3 separate regions of the Homo sapiens genome follow, and all the other regions are linked to region 1. The links are contacts of gene promoters, found by promoter capture Hi-C in blood cells and fetal thymus (Javierre and others, 2016). All regions are on one chromosome and are shown on one strand. Each heading gives the region's core, a stretch centred on a gene start or on the middle of the fragment in contact. The rest is flanking DNA. Distances are from core to core; before and after follow the strand shown.

Region 1 (3,304 bases), core at 522-3,021:
TATTATAATGATTATCACACTGCATGCAGGAAATTTGGCAGGAACTCCTTAAGGAGAGAAAAGAAAAGCAGTCAAAAAAAAATGTATTGAGACACCACCTATCATTACACTGAATGTTCCACTGATACTCTTGCTGAGGTCAGGCTGAGCTGGGGATCAATGCAGGTAATTGCTGGAGGGGCTATAAGAACTTCCAGGGCCAGAAAGAGGAGAAGAATTTGAAATCTGACCTACAGAAGACGGAGGAGGTCCTTAAACACCATGACAAGAAAAATAGGTGTAGATAGGGGGAAAGTTGTTGCTTATAAACACCCAGGAACCCTCCCCCAGTTCACCAGCTTTTACAGACAAGGCCGAGAGCCCAACTTTGCCCCTGGATGGCACAGGACTCTGGGTTACTTTCTTCCTCTAACTGAGTCTCAGTTTCCTCCTGGGCAGAAGGGGAGGACTGAATACTGTGATGTCCATTCTGGTTCTTCCAGGCTAGGCACATATCTGTAATCTCAGACGGTGCCAGTCAGGAACACCAAGCTTCCTGGAATCCCAGGACTGGCAGAGGCCAGTGCCCACTGACAGGTACAGTGCTGGGCCATATGGGCTGTGGCTGCATTAGAGAAGTTCACTCTCACCAGAGTGTCTCCAGCAAGAGACAAGACAGCATGAAACCCCATGTGACCCAGGGGGAGAAGGACCTCCACAGAGGCCCAACCCCGGGCGGACCTACCTGGCTCCCACACTGGTCCCTCGCCGTCCTGTCGATTTTGGCCATTTCTTCATCTGGATCCTGCAAAAACTAACATGAAGCCACCCCCATGACCCCAAGGAAACACACCAAACAAGACAAAAACAGAGAGAAGAAGAGAAAGCTGATCAGGTTATGAGCTCCGTTCCTGCCCAAGGGACCCCCGCCCCCGTAGGCAGAGCCAAGTCGGGTACCCAGGTGAGATGGGGGGGATGCTCCCCAACCTGTCTCTTTTGTACTCACAACGGTCACGTTTGCCTTCCTCTTCCTGGAGCGAGCCGAGAACTCCGCGCCGCCGTCCTCCTTCATGGTGTCCCGCTCCTTCGCATCCCTGTGGACCCGGGTGGCACCGGGCCGGGTGAGCACCCGCGGCCGCCCCTCCCCCACGCCACCCGTCCCGTCCCGTCCCGTCCCGTCCGGCCCCGCGGCGCGGGCACTCACCGCTCCCTGCGCTCCCTCGGCATGATGGGGCTGCTCCGGCCTGAGGCCTGCGGGGCGGCGCGGGGTGAGGCGGCGGCGGGGTCAGGCCGCGGGCCCAGTACCCCTTCCCCCTTTGCGCGCGGGCGGCCGGGCGAGCCAGGAAGATGGCCGATGGCGGGGTGGCCTGTCACCCGCGACCCGGGCACCCGCCGACCCCCGACCCGGGGTCCCGCCGCCCCCGCCGCCCTCACCGGCCCGTCGCCTCCCGGGGCCCGGGCTGCCTCAGTGTCCCCTCCACCCCACCCCGCCGCGCTCTCAGCACCCTCCCGGGCGCCCCGCGACGCCGCCCGGGGACCCGCGACCCGGCCGCACCCCGCCCCCACCCAGCTCCCCGGCGCGGTCTGGGCCCCAGGAGTCCCTGTCCGCAGCCCGCGGCAGTAGACTCACCAGGGTCTTGTCCGCGGCGGACGGCGCGCTCCAGTCCCGGCAGGCGGCGGCGGCGACGGCAGTGGCGGCGGCGGCGCCGGGAGTCGGCGGGCCGAGCGCGCGGCGGTGGCGGGATCCGCGCCTGCCCCCTACACCGCGCTGGCGGCCGCGCCGGCTGCTCCTGCGCCCGGCTCAGAGCGGGACATTTAAAATCCCTGCGCGCGGAACCGGCCCCGGCCCGCCCTCGCACCGCCCCGCCGCGGCTCCCAGCCCCTCAGCGGCCGCGCGGGACCCAGAGCCCGTCCCGCCCCGTCCCTCGCCCCGCCCCCGGACCCGCCCCTCCACGGCGCCGGCCCGCGAGGCGCAGGGACGGGGAATCAGGGGCGGGGCCGGCGGACAGGGCGGGGCCAAGTGACAGGGCCTGCGCGCCGAGGGCCGGGCGCGGGGCGCGGGGCGCGGGACGCGGGGCGGGGCGGCGGGCGGGACGCGGGAGAAGTCTGGCGCGCGGCGGCGAGGGGCGGGCCGCGGGCGCCGGGGGCGGGGCCGAGCGGCGCTGGAGCGGCAAAAAGCCGCGTGGCTGGCGCGGGTGGAATGTAAACACGGCGGGCGGCGCGGGTTCGGGCCCCGGCAGGGCTGAGCCAAGGGGATGTGTGGGGGGCCTACCCGAGGAGCACCGCCCGCCGTTCCTCCGCGCGCGCTGTCCCGCCAGGCACGCCCTCCCCGCCCCCGAGACGCCGAGTTCCGGGCCCTGAGTCCTGGGCGGGGACATCCCCAAGGTCACCGCGCCTGTGCCTTGGCCTAGAACCAAGGCTTCAGGCCGCGGGGTCTGGGGCTCCCTGGGGGCCGGCTGCTATTCCTGGCCGCCTGTCCATTCATCCGTCAGTGCATTGGGTCGTTCATTCATTCATTCAAGGAATCTGTGAGTTCCTTCCATGCGCCCCTTCCATATGCGCCCCTCCCCCGCAAGCCCTTCCTGGCTCTCTGAAGACCTTTCTGACTCTGGGATTCCCTTGCACCCCATCTCTCACTTAAAGCCTTCCAGTTGAGGCCGGGCGCGGTGGCTCACGCCTTTAATCCCAGCATTGTGGGAGGCCGAGACGGCTGATCCCTTGGGGTGTTCGAGACCAGCCTGGGTAACAGTGAGACCCCCATTTCTACAGAAAAAGAAACAAAAAGCCTTCCAGTTGTTTCGCATAAGGGTCAAATCCACACTCCGTGTCCTAGGCTACAGGCTCCACAGGACCTGACCCTGATCCCCCACCCTCAGACCTCAGGCCTCCTCTCCACAGCTCCTCTGTCCTTTCTCCCTCAAGACTTGTATTTTTTATTGTGGCGGGGGGTGGGGGGTGGCAGGTAGGGATAGGGTCTTGCTATGTTGCTCAGGCTGGTCTCAAACCCATGAGCTCAAGCGATCCTCCCGCCTTGGCCTCCCAAAGTGCTGGGAGCCCAGCCCCTACACAGTCTTGGTGCCTCTCTGTTTCTTGTCTCTCTCCCCACCTTGCCCATCTTGCTCACTGCTGTATCTGTCAGTTCTTGGCATAGTGCCTGGACCAAGGGAGACACTTAAATTGTTTCTGAATGAACATTTGAAAGACAGGCACTGGCCAAGCCCTTGCAGGGCTTACCGGCTAATGAGAGAGACAGGTAAGGAACAGTCATCACCTCAGAGTACCCTCTGTACTCAGCTTCAGGAAGATGTGCGTAAAAGAAGGCTCT
Region 2 (3,304 bases), core at 545-3,044, 830 kb before region 1:
CTCACACCTCTGCTGCCCCTGCCCAGGGGTCCTGAGATAGCCATCGGGGCCAGGCTCCTTGGTGTGATGTAGGTCGAGCGCCTGTGGGTTTGCAGAAAGGATTTGGCCTTTTGATTTGGTGTAGAATTTACAACCTGAGAGTGATGTCTCAGCACGCAGATCTGGGTTGTACTGGAAAAGGAAATGAGGTCAAGCTGAGAGGAACAGTGCTATCTGAGGAGGCTTCCACGCGGCCGCAGGTTGGGGACTCGGAACCGCTTCTTGTGGGCCCAGCCCCTTGACAGGGCACCTGCAGCTAAGAGCATCTGAAAGCCCGTGGGTGTGCACCTTCTGCATGGAGCAGCCCTTTTTAGTCTGTGTTCTGGGAACACAGGCAGAAAAGGAAGGAAATTCCATCTGAGGATGAGCCCACAGTACAGCCTGAAGGGGAGCGAGCCATAGGAGAACCGATGCATCCCTCAGGTGTGAGGAAAATTGGAGGCACTGAGCAGAAGAAAAGTGAAGGCAAGCTTCCTGGCTGAAGCTGACTTCATATGAGAGATTTCCAAAGCGACACGTGGGAAACTTCACAACTCCCTAAAACCCGGAGATGGGGCCAGGTCCCTCTTGTACCGGTTGTCAGGGAAGCCTCAAGACTTCATGCTGCTTGCTGTAGGACAGCTGGGGGCATCCAAAACAGTTTCGCTAGCAAAGGGTCAGCACTCCCTGCCCCAGATTAAAAGTTGGTGATGCTATCAACCCTTTGGAAAGGAAATACCACTTCCAAATTGGGGTCTTAGCAAGGAGGTGCTGGAACTGGGTTTATAATGCTCTTTTAAAAAACACAAGGAGGCATACATAGAACATAGTTGATTGGAAGGAGGGATGACAACTTCTAGAGAAAATGAAAAATAAATTATTTGCTTTCATGTCCATAAAGGGAAGACGAAAGCAGATGCCAGCAACAGACAAGCATTTCCCAGGGAGAGGAAAATATTTCTGAAGGAAATCAGCCTAGTAGCAGAACAGGTGAGAAAGAAATTAGAGTGTCTAAGGACTGATAACTCCGGGAGCAGATGGGAACCATCTTAGAATTTGTGCAAGAAGAGGCAAGGAAACAGGGGAACGGTTAGCAAATACCTTTTAAAAACACCCAGGGAAACGGGAGAAGCACCAGTGGCCAAGAGCCCTTATGCAACACCTATATTTAATAACGACTCAAAGGGAGATCAAAGAAATTAAACACCAGTAAGCTTGACTTGAGCAGTGGGGAAGATATTGGAAACACTAATCAGGGACAAAATAGGGAAAGTTATGATTTAATTAAAGATATTCAGCATGGATTCACAAAAGGGAGATCATACGTAACAAAACTAATAGAATATTTTGAAAAAGTAACAAAAAGGAATTCAAGAGGGAAACCAGGGGTATAATTTACTGGGACTTTAAGAAAGCTTTTGTGCACTGACTCACAAAGGACTAATCTCCAGCGGTGGGGAGTTTGGGTGTGAGTGTGGTGGGGGGTGGAGAATGAATGAAGAATTGTCTGGACCAAGGGTACTTGTGAGCATTACTATGAAGAGATTAGGATAAAAAAAGGAGACTGACTGCTGGAATTTCCCGAGATCTGAGTTTTTTTAATTAATTTTTTTAAACATACAACATCAATAGCCTTGCTTCGGAAATGCGCCCAAACGTGGTGGAATTCTCCTGCAGGTGTAACGTCGGAGGGCAGGTGCCAGTTGATACAACAAGGGCAATAACATTGGAAAGGATTTATTGAAATATGATGAATACATGACCATCCCTCAAATACTACGAGACTGCGACCAAAAGGGGGGCAGAGCCACTAATTGCCACTTGAGTAATTAACACAAATAAAGGTGGAGAAAATGTCTAGAAGGAGCTAAAGCACTGTGGTCTGGACAGTGCGTGATCAACAGCTGTGCCCACTGACCGGCAAAGTCACACATCCACACGTACACACCGATGGCTTCATGCAGAAGCACGCACACACCCGCACATGCACACATTCACACATTACATAGGGACATTCATGAGCACACCTTCACACCTTGCAAAGATGCACTCCTGCCTAAACACACATTGTGCACATTCGTGCTCCTAGACACGTGTACACACAGTCGTGAACATGTGTGCGCAGGCTCAAGCTTCTTTCCCCAGAGGCTGCTATACTGTGCTTAGGTGGAAATGATGGATGTAAAGGAAAAAAGAACATACTATTTTCCACCAGGACAGTTGGGGAGGCACATGACAGGGGGAAAGGCCCCCTTAGTCACATTACGGTAATAATAGATGCCACAGGGATGAAAGAAGAGGCAGAGGGGAGAGGAATCGTGAGACACAAAAAGACCTTTGTTGCTACAAGCCAAACCAGAGCTGAATACCTTCTCTGAAAAAATAATGGCAGAAATCCCCAAAGGGGCCAAACTCTTGCACTTGGAGACAGAGCTACAGAATGCAGTAGCAGGAGGCTGGAGAAGACGGTGACTAGATCTGAGACCTGCTGTCCTCAGGGCTCCAACCCAAAGCTTATCCAGCAAGAAGCCAGGCTGGGCAACGGCATGGCGAACTTTCCCAAAATGCAGACGTGTTGTTCGCCAAACGAATAGTTTCTTCATTCTTGGTGAATGTCTAGGTCAGAATAATGACCAAAAGCATCAGAACATATGTGTCTAGATGGGAAGCTCCCTGCTGCAGGGTGGCGCCATCCGCTAAGTGGGCTGCAGCCACTAGCAGACGGCCCTCATCTGTGGGGCTTCACACTCAAATCCCTTTGACACTTATAAAGTTATGACAAGCCTGTGGAGAAGATATGGATATAGACACAGATCCTAACATGCAAGTATTAGAATAATTTGAACTTCATTTACCTTTTACATCATTCATTAATATTAAAATGTGACTTCAACAGTTTCCATATTTAAAAGGTCACTGAGGATGAAAAGTTGCAAAATGAAGGATACATGTCCTCCTCATTAATAATAACAGGAGTGTCCTATAATAGTCATATCCTCTGATGCTAAGGCACCAAGGCATTGATTCCCCCCAAAAAAATTTTTTTAAAGAAATGCCACCAAAAGCAATGGCAGCAAAAGCCAAAATTGACAAATGGGATCTAATTAGACTAAAGAGCTTCTGCACAGCAAAAGAAACTACCATCAGAGTGAACAGGCAACCTACAGAATGGGAGAAAATTTTTGCAATCTACTCACCTGACAAAGGGCTAATATCCAGAATCTACAATGAACTCCAACAAATTTACAAGAAAAAAACAAACAACCCCATCAAAAAGTGGGCAAAG
Region 3 (3,304 bases), core at 464-2,963, 590 kb after region 1:
ACCTTGTCTGAAGTCCAGGGCTCCCGTGACCTCTGCCTTCCAGTGGCACCTGCAAATTAGACCCCATTCTCTTAGGGTCTGAGTTGTCTTCACACAAAAGTGCTGAGAAGGGACTGTTGGTGTCTGGCAAGGTATTTTCCTCTCCATGTAGCAAAGCTACAAGAAAAGGGGGTTAGGGTAGAGTGTACCATTTGGGATCTGAGCTGAGAGGGAACCTAAGACTTGACCTCTAGAACTTTCAAATATTCACATTCTATTCCCTAGATAGCAGAGATCTACCTAGAGCTCCTGTCTCTTGCAGGGCAAGCCAGGGGAATGATTGCCTCTCTCAGCAGGAGCCGAGAGAGGAGAGAAGCTTCCCTCCACGGATGCACCTGCCCAGCACTCGGGTCCTAGGATGTTGCTCCACCTGGATCAGCGGCACCATCCCCAGTGCCTGCCTTCTCCTCTAATGCCTCCAGGTGATCTCTTGTGTTCCTCACCCTTCCCATCCCTCCTGACCCTGGGCACCTCCACGATCCCTTCTGCCCAGGCTTTTGGTTCCTTCTCCCCTCAGGGTCTCACTGACTGCACTCCATTCTCTCTCTGGAGCACAAGAAGCCTTATATGCATTTGCTGACCCCTTCAGCCAGCACAAATTTGCCATCTCTCTCTGCGTGCCTAAAGTTCCATTACAGGTGGAATAGAAGAAGCCCGGTCACTCTTACACAGCTGAGGATGCAGCAATACTTCTTCGTGGAGTGCAAGACTCTATCCCTGCCTTAAGGAGTTTATTTGGTGGAGACAAGGCAGAGGAGAAGGTAGGGTGGTTTATTCCAGCCTAAGAGAGGGCATCCACAGCACATCCCATAGCCGTCCAGAGGAAGGGGACTGGAAATAGGACAGTAGCTGTAAAATACTCATCCACACAAACTGAGCACCGCCAGAGGCCATGCCAACATAACCGAGTTCAAGCCGGTACCATGCACTGCACAACAGCCAGTACGTCAAGAAACAAGGAATTGGGTCAAGGGAGGGGGCTTTGTTTTGGAGAGCCAGCAACCGAGAAGGTGGTGGGCCAGTGTCCTAAAGAACCATCTGAAGTTACTATGAATTTCAGCCTCCTTTTATGTGGGAGGAGAGAGGGGGTTGAGGTTAGGATGTGACCGATGACAGCGGACATCTGAGCAGCAGCAAGGGTCTGAGGGGGCTGGAGACGTGTTTGTCCTTGGTCAGGTCCCAGTGCTCGTGTACATCTTTAACACACAGTGTTGCTCATGGGACGCCCTCCTTATCTCCTTGGGGGTGAGTGTTCAGAAGGAACTGTGGTCTCCTTGCTTTAAACTAGAAATGAAAGGCCTCTCACAGTTAGCTTGGTTTATGTGCAGAGATCAGCAAGAGCAGTTAACCCAGAAGATGTCACCAGAGGAGGTGGGTTAGGAGCAAAACACTTGTCACATGAGGGCTTCTTTTCACTGCTCCACCAAGGGCACATTCTTGCCTTCCCCTTTATACACACTCCTGTTACCCCCATCTTGCCAGGAGGCTGGACGTGTCCCCAGGTCTGCCCAAGTCCACCAGGGCTTCCTGGAGGACATGGAGTTCATGCTGGACCTTGACCCGGAGAAGAATGAGGCAGAGGATAGAGGGGGCTCCAGGTTAGGCCCAGCACAGGGCCAGGTGGGAAGGAGAGTAGCTTTGGCCTCTGCACAGAACCACCAGGTCCATGGTCCAGTCTTGTCTCTTCTGCCAACCCCATCCCTTCCAGCTCTGGCATTCATGGAACAAATCATCAGTTATTTGGATTCAAATCTGACAAATTAAATTGCAAAGAATTAAATAAGTTGTAGATCAATACTGTCTAAATGATCAATTAATCATTCCCTGTAATTAAAACTACCAATTCCTAATACCTTTCAGTTAAATTTTATTGCACCATTTCTAATTCAGAGCTTTTCGGCAGTTATATTGATTGCAGGTATACTTACCTGGTAATCAAATAATTTATTAATCAGCATACTTCATTATGGAATATCTGCACATTGACTCAGAAGGCTGGTTTAGTTCAGCCTGAGTTTTATTTTTATTTTATTTTATTTTTTTGAGACAGAGTTTGGCTCTTGTTGCCCAGGCTGAAGTGCAATGGCATGATCTTGGCTCACTGTTACCTCCACCTCCTGGGTTCAAGTGATTCTCCTGCCTCAGCCTCCCAAGTAGCTGGGATTACAGGCACCCGCCACCATGTCTGGCTAATTTTTTTTGTTTTTAGTAGAGACAAGGTTTCACCATGTTGCTCAGGCTAGTCTCGAGCTCCCTCAGGTGATCCACCAGCCTTGGCCTCCCAAAGTTCTGGGATTACAGGCATGTAATATCCTGCCCAGCCCAATTTGAGTTTTATTTTAAAGATGCTGGAGGTTTGCCATTACCTGCTTGTATACGTCACACAAAGTTCCTTCTTTTGTGAAAAATAATTGCAAAAAAAATAGGTGTGTGTACTTAAAAGCAGGTAAATGGATAAACTCAAGTGGTTCCTCAAAATTATGTTTTAACCGTAATCTTTTTCATGGAGGTTTTGCAACTTAATTTATTCCCAATATGCTTAGAAAAGTGCTCTCAAGATTCAGGGATGAAAAGGCCTTTGGGAAAATGGGTGCTACCTTCATTAGTACCTTGAAATACAAATTAAATCCCAAGCACATCACAATTTGCTTTCCTGCATCTACCAATTTTGAAATAGTACAAATAAAATGTCTTACTTACCTCGTGAATTTATTATTTCAGCTGTTCATGCTGGACACCTGGTGGTTTGATTTAACTTCCCTTAATGTTTTGGGGCATCATTAGGAGAGGGAAATGAGGACCTGTAATTGTGTGTGCAGACCCTGCAGGGGCCCTGGGTGGGCTGGAGCCTCCTTTCTGCTCCCCTTGCTCACATTCAAGGTCCCCAGGGCTGTCTGGGTTTGTCTTGGAGATTCAGGGAGCCAGCTCCTCCCCAGAGAGAAGAGGGCTCTGGTGGGCTTCCCTCTGCAAAGACAGAACGTGGGCATCAGTCTCTGGATCTCAGCTTCTCCTGATTGATGGGCAAAGCTTCCACAGAGGTGTTGAGCTGGGTTGCAGCTGAGTGGATCCAGCACTTCAGGCTTGAGAACAAGATGACTGAAGGTAGGGAGCCATAGGACCACTGAGAAGGCCAGAGGTGGAGGTGGGAGAGGGGCAGAAACTGACATTACCACCTTCTCTGTCCTCTACAAACTGCCCAAGGACTTTCAGAGCCATACTCCTTCAACTTATGCCCCACACCCCGAAATCTTCCTTCCCTCCAAAA

What was found. The method cuts DNA at HindIII sites, captures the fragments that hold promoters and counts their contacts. A CHiCAGO score of 5 or more calls a contact.
Region 2: a contact is called between a fragment that was not itself captured here and the fragment with the promoter of CCNE1 in region 1, in 1 of 17 cell types (endothelial precursors). The highest score is 6.2, in endothelial precursors.
Region 3: a contact is called between a fragment that was not itself captured here and the fragment with the promoter of CCNE1 in region 1, in 1 of 17 cell types (total CD8 T cells). The highest score is 6.0, in total CD8 T cells.

Annotation. Positions count from the first base shown.
Region 1 is chr19:29,810,458-29,813,761 of GRCh38, reverse strand. CCNE1 (cyclin E1) reads right to left here and starts at 1,771. Exons shown (of 12, transcript NM_001238.4): 1 at 1,610-1,771; 2 at 1,184-1,230; 3 at 986-1,073; 4 at 725-793. The coding sequence starts at 1,206. RefSeq lists a silencer at 1,688-2,317. The HindIII fragment of the contact is 7,130 bases long and covers 534-3,304 here.
Region 2 is chr19:30,645,191-30,648,494 of GRCh38, reverse strand. It overlaps a transcript of ZNF536 not described here. Among named protein-coding and RNA genes, the nearest start is that of ZNF536-AS1, 23 kb to the left of the region's middle. The HindIII fragment of the contact is 717 bases long and covers 1,436-2,152 here.
Region 3 is chr19:29,219,152-29,222,455 of GRCh38, reverse strand. No RefSeq gene overlaps it. Among named protein-coding and RNA genes, the nearest start is that of UQCRFS1-DT, 7.6 kb to the right of the region's middle. The HindIII fragment of the contact is 2,711 bases long and covers 358-3,068 here.